Linked DNA regions of Homo sapiens: region 1 is linked to region 2. Evidence: promoter capture Hi-C in human tissues and cell types (Jung and others, 2019). All regions are on one chromosome and are shown on one strand. Each heading gives the region's core, a stretch centred on a gene start or on the middle of the fragment in contact. The rest is flanking DNA. Distances are from core to core; before and after follow the strand shown. Region 1 overlaps EIF4H (eukaryotic translation initiation factor 4H). Region 2 holds the start of DNAJC30 (DnaJ heat shock protein family (Hsp40) member C30).

The links. Contacts are between HindIII fragments. The study calls those that stand out against the background at their distance.
Region 1: a fragment that was not itself captured here is called in contact with the fragment with the promoter of DNAJC30 in region 2 in 1 of the 25 tissues and cell types used here (dorsolateral prefrontal cortex).

The regions. Positions count from the first base shown.
Region 1 is chr7:74,180,285-74,184,965 of GRCh38, forward strand. All of the region lies in intron 1 of EIF4H (eukaryotic translation initiation factor 4H), which reads left to right. Among named protein-coding and RNA genes, the nearest start is that of EIF4H, 8.3 kb to the left of the region's middle. RefSeq lists an enhancer at 1-165. The HindIII fragment of the contact is 4,931 bases long and covers 827-4,681 here.
Region 2 is chr7:73,679,878-73,685,031 of GRCh38, forward strand. DNAJC30 (DnaJ heat shock protein family (Hsp40) member C30) reads right to left here and starts at 3,576. Exons shown (of 1, transcript NM_032317.3): 1 at 1,041-3,576. The coding sequence starts at 3,546. The coding sequence ends at 2,866. It overlaps BUD23 (BUD23 rRNA methyltransferase and ribosome maturation factor), which reads left to right and starts at 3,720. Exons shown (of 12, transcript NM_017528.5): 1 at 3,720-3,796; 2 at 3,890-3,927. The coding sequence starts at 3,749. RefSeq lists enhancers at 2,998-3,087, 3,328-3,497, 4,428-5,154. The HindIII fragment of the contact is 30,091 bases long and covers 1-5,154 here.

The DNA.
Region 1 (4,681 bases), core at 2,042-4,541, 500 kb after region 2:
CCATAGTTTGTTCTATAGAAAGAACAGCTAGTTCAGCTTGTAGCTCAAGTGCTTTTCCTGCAGCAGCCATCATGCTTGTGTATGCAGCAGAAGTGCTTTGCGTGTTTCATAACATAGGGTACTAAAAAGTGGGTCACGATTCATTTTTACTGCTTTACCAAGGATATTCCTAATTGAAGCTGTGATTTTTCTTCCTATTTTAAATACTTCAAGTGCATGGTGGGAAAGCATGAGTAATGTAGTTTGATGCCCCTGCCTTCGTTTGTATTAACACAAAGACCTGTTGTGAGATCAGTATAGGTCTTTGCTTTATAAATGTGGAATATTGTGAACCATTCTGGGAACCATATTTTAAGGCATCAGCACACTGGAGCCTATGAAGAAGAAGGTGATAGTGGGGATGGCCAGGCTCTGAAACTTCATCTTAGGAGGAAGGGCTGAGCAGCTTCAGTGAGGACCTTCGAAAGAAGCCTCAGCAGCAGTGATACAGCAGCTCTTAAGTCTCTGGGACTGCTGAGTGGAAGAAAGGTGTGGCCCTCCAGGCCAGAATAGGACCAAAGGATTACATCTTGGCCTTCTTCAGAGACTGCACAAATGTAAAGAACTGCTGCTTGAGCTAAATAATTGTTTTTTTAATAGAGACAGGGTCTCCCTTTGTTGCCTAAGCTGGTCTTGAACTAGCCTCAAGGGATACTCCTGCCTTGACCTCCTAAAGTGCTGGGATTGCAAGCATGAGCCACCACGCCCAGCCTCAACCATTTTTAAGTGTACAATTTAGTGGCATGGAGTACCTTCATAGTGTTGTGTAACCATTGCCACTATCTAGTTCCAGAACCTTTTCATAATCCAAACAGAAACTCTATACCCACTAAACAACTCCATTCCTTTCCCAGTTTTAACCTCATAAACATTTTGGCTATTTCTGTTACATCTATCTTCCCTACTTTTGGGTGGAGGTGTGGGCTAGGATAATTTAAGGCTAATCCTAGTCACCTATCCTTCTAAAATAGTTCTTATTTTTTTAAATTTTAATCCTCATCTTTGTGTTGGTAAATATTACATACTTTAGAGCAATTTTTGTTTCAATTTTTATGGCTACCGTAGTAGATGTATCTTATATATTCTTTCTTTGTTTTTTTTGTTTTTTGTTTTGTTTTGTTTTCTGAGGCAGAGTTTTACTCTTGTTGCCCAGGCTGGAATGCAGTGGCACTATCTCGGCTCACCACAACCTCCGCCTCCTGGGTTCAAGCGATTCTCCTGCCTCAGCCTCCCGAGTAGCTGGGATTACAGGCATGTGCCACCACACCTGGCAAATTTTGTATTTTTAGCAGAGATAGAGCAGAAACAGAGGGTTTCTACATGTTGGTCAGGCTGGTCTCGAACTCCCGACCTCAGGTAATCTGCCTGCCTCGGCCTCCCAAAGTGCTGGGATTACAGGTGTGAGCCACCGAGCCCGGCCTTTTTTTTTGAGATGGAGTCTCACTCTGCCTCCCAGGCTAGAGCTCAGTGGCGCGATCTCAGCTCACTGCAGCCTCCGCCACCACCCCTCAGCCTCCCGAGTAGCTGGGATTACAGGCACCTGCCACTGTGCCCAGCTGATTTTTGTACTGTTAGTAGAGATGGGGTTTCACCATGTTGGCCGGGTTGGTCTTGAACTCCTGACCTTGTGATTCATCCGCTTCAGCCTCCCAAAGTGCTGGGATTATAGGTGTGAGCCACCACACCCGGCCTCTTACATACTTTTCATACTTGAGTATGTTTCTAACAGATAAGGGCTTCTTTTTTTTCTTTAACCAACAGTTTTTCCAGTACCCAGTGTTCAGTTTTTCCCAGTTTTTGCAAAGATGACTTTGTATAGTTGGATTGTTTGAATATGCAAAACATTACAGAAAAATGTAGAAAATTTAGAACACGAACCAAAGCATAATATAGTGACCTGTATACCCATTACCTACTCTTTAAGTGACCACTCTTCTCTATACTACTATGGTTTATAATAGGTAGTATAAATGGTATTTATCAAAGGCTTGACCTTTGAAAGCTTAACCATTTTTGATGATTGTCAAAAACCCAAATGTTACCTGTTTGTAGATATGGGGTTTTGCCGTGTTCCCCACGCTGGTCTCAAACTCCTGAGCTCAAGTGATCTCCCCACCTTGGCCTCCCGAAGTGCCGGGATTGCAGGTGTGAGCCATGGCGTCCGGCCAGTCATTTTCTTTGGTTTACACTACTTTACCCTTCTGGGCCCTACTTTCCCCAAATGAGAGCTAGAAACTCCTCTGTTGGGAGGTTTAAATGAGATGTGTCTCATAATTTGGAGGCATAGTCTTGCCCTGTTGCCCAGGCTGGAGTGCAGTTGCACAATCACAGTCCCAAAGTGCTGGGACTACAGGCCGGAGCCACATGCCCATGCCCAGCCTTGAGCACTCAACTTTCTGTTGCATCTACTTACTGGATACATCCCTACCCTCATAACATCTACTCTGTACATTGGCTTCTTTTTATAGTTACCCTCTCTCAGTCTCCTTTGACACCTACAGATCTTTTCTGGCTCACCCTAAGGGTTCAGTATTGGCCCCATCTGCCATCTGGAAGTGGAGTCCCACTTCTGTTGCTCTCTGCTGTGCTGCATATCCTGGCTCCCAACTGCTCCACCCTGGTGAAACTGTTCTCATTGCTATCTTCCAGATTTTCTGCAGTCCTTTGCTTGTGACGTGATTTCTCCTTTCCAAATTATCAGCTCCTTGAGGGCAGAAACCGAGTCTTAGGTTTGTGCCTTCTCTACATTCTCTCCACCCTTCATAGACATGCAGATACGTGGTTGATTTGAGTAAGGAAAAGTGATTTGCCTGTCAAGGATTTTAGTCACACTTGGAGCCGAAAGTAGGGTTTCCTAAATTACTGAGGCTGTAATTGACTACTTTAATCTTTCATAATCAATAGACTGTCCCTAATGGGCAGTAGAAAGGACACTGCTCAGTAGTGGCAGGGAGTTTGCAGCACAGACCTTGACTTCAGGTGTCCTGAATTGGCACGCTCTGCTGATCTGTTCCTGTTCTACACGCACTCCTGCCAGCCCAGTGTAGCCTCAGGCCTGTTGGGTCTACCCAGGAGCATGGCAGAATTATATAGCACTTGGTACTTAGGAAATGTTTTTATGGTCAGTTTTAAACTTATAAAATCAAGATTGAAATATAACAGACAAGAAAACATAGGTACAGAGGTAATTTGGCAGAGGTCCTACATCAAGCTAGCTAAGGTGTCAAGTGAACCTGTTCTCCCATGTGTTGTTATTGATCTGTGTAGGAATGTACTGAATTTCACGAAACACAGCTTATTTATTTAGGTAGTAGTCCCCCAAACTTGAATCTAGTGAAAGGTGGCAGACATTTTAGCTCAGAGTTTTCTGACATTTGATTTTGTAAATGAATCGGTGGGTAACAGATCTGTGTCATCCTATGTGATGTGATGTGATGTCATCCTATGTGATGTGTACTCTGGGGTACTCACATCCTATGTGATGTGTCTCAAGTGACTGTCACACAGTGGACACTTTACCAGTGCTAGCTTGAATGAGGTCTACCTCCATGGCCCAGCCCTGCTGCCCCCTAGTGATTTCATTGAATGGGATGAAAAGGTAAAAAGTGCTTAAGACCTGTAGAAGGGACTACATCAGGTAGGGTATGGGAATATTTAGGACTACTTTGGTAATTATTGAAAAGTCTAGAGTATTAAGCCACTGGTGGTTTTGTGAGGCACGAGTGAGTTGAACAGTTTGGTGGGCTTTGGTGTATCTTTGCTCCAGAATTATATCACCAGTTAGCTGTTAGGTGCTGCCATTTGGTAACGTGCCAACTTTTCAAAAATGGTTTGCCCCAAACTAGATTTTTCTATCTTCTCCAAAGCCAGAGCCACCTTCCTGTCCTAGTGCATTTTTAGCAGTGCCCCGTCATCTTACTGGCATTCACCTGGGCTTCCTGTGCTCAATCAGGGGTCAAGTCTGGCCTGATCTCAGTTCCACAGTTCCTCTACTCTGTAAGTTCGAGCACAATTAGCAAGCCTTCGCACCTCCATTTTCCTTACTTAGCAACTACATCAAACACCCGAGAGTTTATCATCTCTCTTCATCCTCACCCTCCTTTTTAGTTTTTATGTATATGTTACACATTCATACACACAAACATACCTGCATATATACATGTGTTTTATACGTCCCACACAACTGTGAGCTGCTTACATACAAGACAGTCTTTTAACATCATTACGCATCACTAGATGTTTAATGTTGAGTAATGAATTTAAACTGTTTTTAACATTGACCCTCCATTTTTATGGTTTTCCACATGTTTATACTGTATCTTGTTTTTTGTTTGTTTGGTTTTGTTGTTGTTTTTTGTGCTTTTTTGTTTGTTTTTTGTGTTTTTTTGTTTTTGTTTTTTTGAGATGGAGTCTCGCTCTGTAGCCCAGGCTGAAGCGCAGTGACACAGTCTCAGCTCACTGCAAGCTCCACCTCAGCCTCTGAAGTAGCTGGGATTACAAGTGTGTGCTACCACACCTGGCTAGTTTTTGTATTTTTAGTAGAGACGGAGTTTTACCATGTTGGCCAGGCTGGTCTTGAACTTCTGGCCTCAAGTGATCCACCCACCTTGACCTCCCGAAGTGCTGGGATTACAGGTATGAG
Region 2 (5,154 bases), core at 2,326-4,825:
GGTCCCTCAGGCATTAGCTCTGGCCTACAAAACCCTGAGGCATAAAGGGATGACATTACGGAGTAGGCCTTGTGCTGAGTCAGGGGAGAGGCTTAGGATTGGATGATGGTTAGTAAACCTTATAGAATACTTTGCTTAGAGTTTCATGGAATGTCCCAGAAGTTTACCTTAGTCTGGACCCACCCCCAGTCTGAACCTTCTGGAATTTTCTATGTACCCCAGATTCGGGGGCTCACAGGGAACGTTCCTGGCTGGGATCTTGACTGAGAAAACAAACTTCAGAGGTCTATCTCAAGGAGCCCATGCTATTAGACCACTAGTGCTTTACAAACCCACATCGAAAGGAGGCCACCTGTTTCACTAGAACAAAAAGCCCTTGCCCCACTGTTTCTGTCGTGCCTGCTTTACTGGTTGAGAAGCACTAGTTTCAGAACATTTTGCTAAACTCCACTTCGTGCAGTTTGTTTTTCCAGAAAAAAGAAACTCCACTTGCTGCAGTTTTGTTTTTCCAGAAAAAAGTCTCTGTCCTGTTTTCTAAATATGAAACATAGTAACAATAAATGTTCTTTTAAAAAGTACATATCCCCTTCCCCCAAGTCCAGGCTCACTGAGCCAAACAGGTCTGAACCAGATTGGGCTCAAATCTTTTTTTTCTTTTTCTTTTTTTTTTTTTTTGAGATAGGGTCTAGCTTTGTAGCCCAGGCTGGAATGCAGTGGCAGGATCGCAGCTCACTGCAACCACGACCTCTCAGGCTCAAGCGATTCTCCCACCTTAGCCTCCTGAGTAGCTGGGACTACAGGCACTTGCCACACCCGGCTAATTTTTGTGATTTTTGTAGAGATGGGGTTTTGCCGTGTTGCCCAGGCTGGTCTCCAACTCCTGAGGTCAAGTGATCCACCCGCCTTGGGTGGATCCCAAAGTGTTGTGCCAGGCCCCAGATCTTCATTACTGCATCATATGATCACTGCAAAGCCTGGAGTAGGGGCATACCCCCAACCTCCGAGGCAAGAGACAATCAATGGTTTCCCTTTTTTTTTTTCCTTTTCAGGCTAGATTGGCACAATGATGGAATGGTTTTCAAGAGGCCAAGTAGGACCAGCTGTGGGTTTATCCCATTTTACCTAAGGATTTTACACAATACATTGAGTGCAGGAATGGCACGCAATGATTGCACTCAGTAATATACCAAACCACTCCTGGCTTTGTTTAGACCCTAGACTTGGGCCCTCATCCTTCTCGTAGACCTCTTGCGAGGATTTTCCCCTTTTACAGATTCACACTCAGTCCCGAACAGAAACACTTGAGCACCTACAATCTCACAGCCAACTCCCTGCCAACGTCCAGTGACTCACAGTTAAGAGAGCTTCAGCAGCAGCTCTGACCAAAGTGATGACCAACTACTTAACATGAATTAGAAACAGAGCAGAAAAAACACGCCTTTAGCCTGCTCTGCGTAAAGAACCAAGTCTCCACCATGAACACCAAGCCACCAACTCCCCGTCCCTCAGTAGTCCTGTGTACTCCCAAAGCCCCAAAATTTACCCCAGCCTCAAGCAGCCTTGTTTAAAAAATTAAGGAAGGGCCTGTGATAAGCACTGCAAGTTAAACAGAAACAGGGGACTTAAGTGCAGAGTTTGTCACTCTATTTCTGGGAGGGGATGGGCTGCACAGTGTGCAATGGGGCTGGCTGGTAAAGGGAGGACCAGGTGACAGCCAGCCACACTGTCTCAAGGATGAACCTGGCCCTGCTAGCATTATGCTGTAATCCCTGTGGATTAGAACTATGGATAATAGGGCCGGGAGCAGTGGCTCATGCCTGCAATCCCAGCACTTTGGGAGGCTGGACGGGCAGACAGCCTGAGGTCGGCAGTTCGAGACCTCAGTCTGGCCAGCATGGTGAAACCCCGTATCTACTAAAAATACAAAACACTAGCCAGGTGTGGTGGGAGCCTGTAATCCCAGTTACACAGGAGGCTGAGGCAGGAGAATCGCTTGAACCCGGGAGGTGGAGGTTGCAGTGAGCTAAGATCGCACCACTGCACTCCAGCCTGGGCAACAGAGCGCAAGACTCCATCTCAAAAACAAAACAAAACAAAAAACCCCCCAAAAACTATGGATAATAAAGCATGACAGACCTCAAGATGCCAAATGATTTTCTCCTCTGCTGTCATGCCTACAGAGTAACTTCTCCAAGGTCACACATTAAATATGGGCACAGGAACACTCATTCCTTATGCTCAATGACTTTTTCTCACTCCTACATGCTATCAACATAAGGAGGAGTGCCCCAGGGGGCTGACCTTAGCGGGAGGAACGACAGGCTCTCCACCGATCCCATTCTTACCCTGGACCAGGTCTCACCTGCGGCTTGGGGAAGTCACAGAAAGACAAGTTTCGTACAACCCCAGACCTTTTCTTTTGGTAGTCAACAATTGGTCACATTGCACATTTCAAGGTTACAGAGGCCCACCATACACATGCGGGGCAGGAGGAGATAAATCTTGCTTGGGGCTAAACAATAAAGCTACAGCGAGTGTTCCAGAAGTTGACCACATCTGGAAGCAAGAAGACAGACTCTGGAAGAAGCACCCTAGAGACTCCAGGAACCCCCTTCACTCCTGGGCTTTCGGGACTCTACAGCGTGGGGCCTCTTTCTCAGACATCGAAAGGCCTCCTTTTCTGGACCACAGTGGAGCGATGTGCAGGTCATCGGCTAAGCTGGGCGGGTCGGGGAGGGCAGGGGGAGTACAGTTCCTTCGGATCCCAGCAAAGGTAGACTATCAATGGCCAAGGGTTCAGAGGCAGGAAAAAAGGCCGTTTCTGGGGGGTTGGCTGGGGACACTCCCCTTCCCTTCTCTCTCCGATTAAATATAAAAGCCGATGATGATGAAGATTGAAAAGATGAGGAAAATGGCAGCCGTGTCTCGGGTATCCTCCCAGCGGAGGCCTTTCATGGACCGATACTCCTGCCGTTTGCGAAGGGCCTCCCGCCGGGCCCTCAGGCGCCGTTCCCGCTCCAGTTGTTCCCCGTAGTGGGCCTGGTAGAAGGCGTCAAAGTTGAACATCGTGCGGTTGGCGCCGGGGGAGGCCCGAGAACCGTCGTGGGTCCGAGAGGTGGGCGGCGGGGTACGCGGCGAGCCGGGGTCGGGTGCGGGCGTCCTGGAGGGCCGGACGCCAGGTCCGCGCAGGTCCTCGTCGCTGAGTAGGCCGCGATCATACTTGCGACGGAGGGTGGCACTGCCCAGCACCACGTAGGCCTGGGAGATGCGCGTGAAGCGCTCGGCGGCCTCCGCGCTCCCGGAGTTGCGGTCCGGGTGGTAGAGAAAGCACTGACGGTAGTAAGCCGCCTTGATTTGGGCCTGCGTGGCTGTGGAGGGGACGCCGAGCAGATCATACAGCGCCGTGCGCGAATACGAGCAGTCGCCCTGGGAATAAGTCCTCGCTCCTAGGCCCAGGCTGGGTGCAGAATTTTGTGGAAAGCCACGGGCCTGCAGCAACCTCCAAGGTAACAGCCGCTGCCACCATCGCCAGCGCATGGCTGCCATGTTGAATTGATTCGGCAGGCGGTGCAAGAGAAACCGGCCAATGAGAGGAGTCGGTTGGTCGCCCTGTGGCCAGTCACGTAAAGGGGGGGGCGGGGCGGTCGTGGGGGTGGAACATGCGTATTACTAAGCGGTCGCCGGGCTGATGACATAAAAACCGGGTGCCGGCAGGCGCCAGTCGCAGGTGTGCTGCTGAGGCGTGAGAATGGCGTCCCGCGGCCGGCGTCCGGAGCATGGCGGACCCCCAGAGCTGGTAAGTCCCGGGGCCCGCGGACACCCCTCTCCCCACTTCTGCGGCCACCGCGTCTGAATTATTCCTCTACATGCCATTTTCTCTTTTTCGCAGTTTTATGACGAGACAGAAGCCCGGAAATACGTTCGCAAGTGAGGGGAGCCTGAATACTGCGGGGCGTCCGGGGGTCGGGAAGCGGCAAGTTGCCCCTGTTGCTGGCGTTGCCCGGAAAGGCCGTAGAATTTGGGGGTGCGGGAAGGGAAGGACCCGGGTGGGTGCCGATTTCTGTCTCTGGTAAATCAACTTTAAGTTGCCGACCTCTCTGGGCCTCGGTACCTCAGCGTTGAGGTAGGGGTGATCGCGCTTGCTTTCCGTGGGTGGTTTTCAAAGTCGAATGTGACAATTTGTCCTAAACATGTGGTAAAAGAGGCGCTGGGCGGTGGGTACGGGCGAGGGGTCAGTCCTGGTGGGGGGAAGGAAGTAATGGCCGTAGGATGCTTATCGTGGCGCCTTGTTGCCAATAAATCTCCAAGACAGCAGTTGGTGTATTATTGTCTGAATTTCATAGAGGGTAGTTTGTATAACTACTGAGTTGTAGCCAGGTGGGAGTGGCTCACGCGTGTAATCTCAGCAATCGCAGCACTTTGGGAGGCTGAGGCGGGAGGATCGCTTGAGCTCAGGGGTTCGAGACCAGCCTGGGCAACGTAGCGAGCCCCCGTCTCCGCAAGTAATAAAAAAATTAGCCGGGTGTGGTGGCTCCCCTCTGCCTCTCCAGTAGTTGGGACCACAGGCGCGCGCCACTACGCCTGGCTTTTTTTTGTAAATTTTTGTTGCGATGGGGTCTCGCTGTGTTGCCCAAGGTGGCCCAAGCCCAGGGCTCAAGCGATCCTCCCGCCTTCGTCTCCCGAACTGTTGGGATTGCAGGCGTGAGCCAGCGCACCTCGAGTCGTTAAAAAAAAAAAAAAGGGGGGGGGATGGGGGCGGGGGGAAGCTGGCGCGGTGTCTCACGCCTGTAATCGCAACACTTTGGGAGGCTGAGGCAGACGGATCACCTGAGGTCAGGAGTTCGAGACCAGCCTGGCCAACATGGCGAAACTCCAGCTCTACTAAAAATGGAAAAAATTAGCCGGGCGCGATGGCGGGTTTCTGTAACCCCAGCTACTCGGGAGGCTGAGGCAGGAGAATAGCTTGAACCCGGGAGGGGGAGGTTGCAGTGAGCCGACATCACGGCACTGCACTCCAGCCTGGGCGACAGAGCAAGACTTTGTTTCAAAAAAAAAAAAAAAAAAAAAAAAAAAAAAAAAAAAGATACTTTGTGGTTTTTCCGTGCTCTCTCACTGAGAGACTAGCCCTATTTCAGTAAATGGTTACTGGCCGGG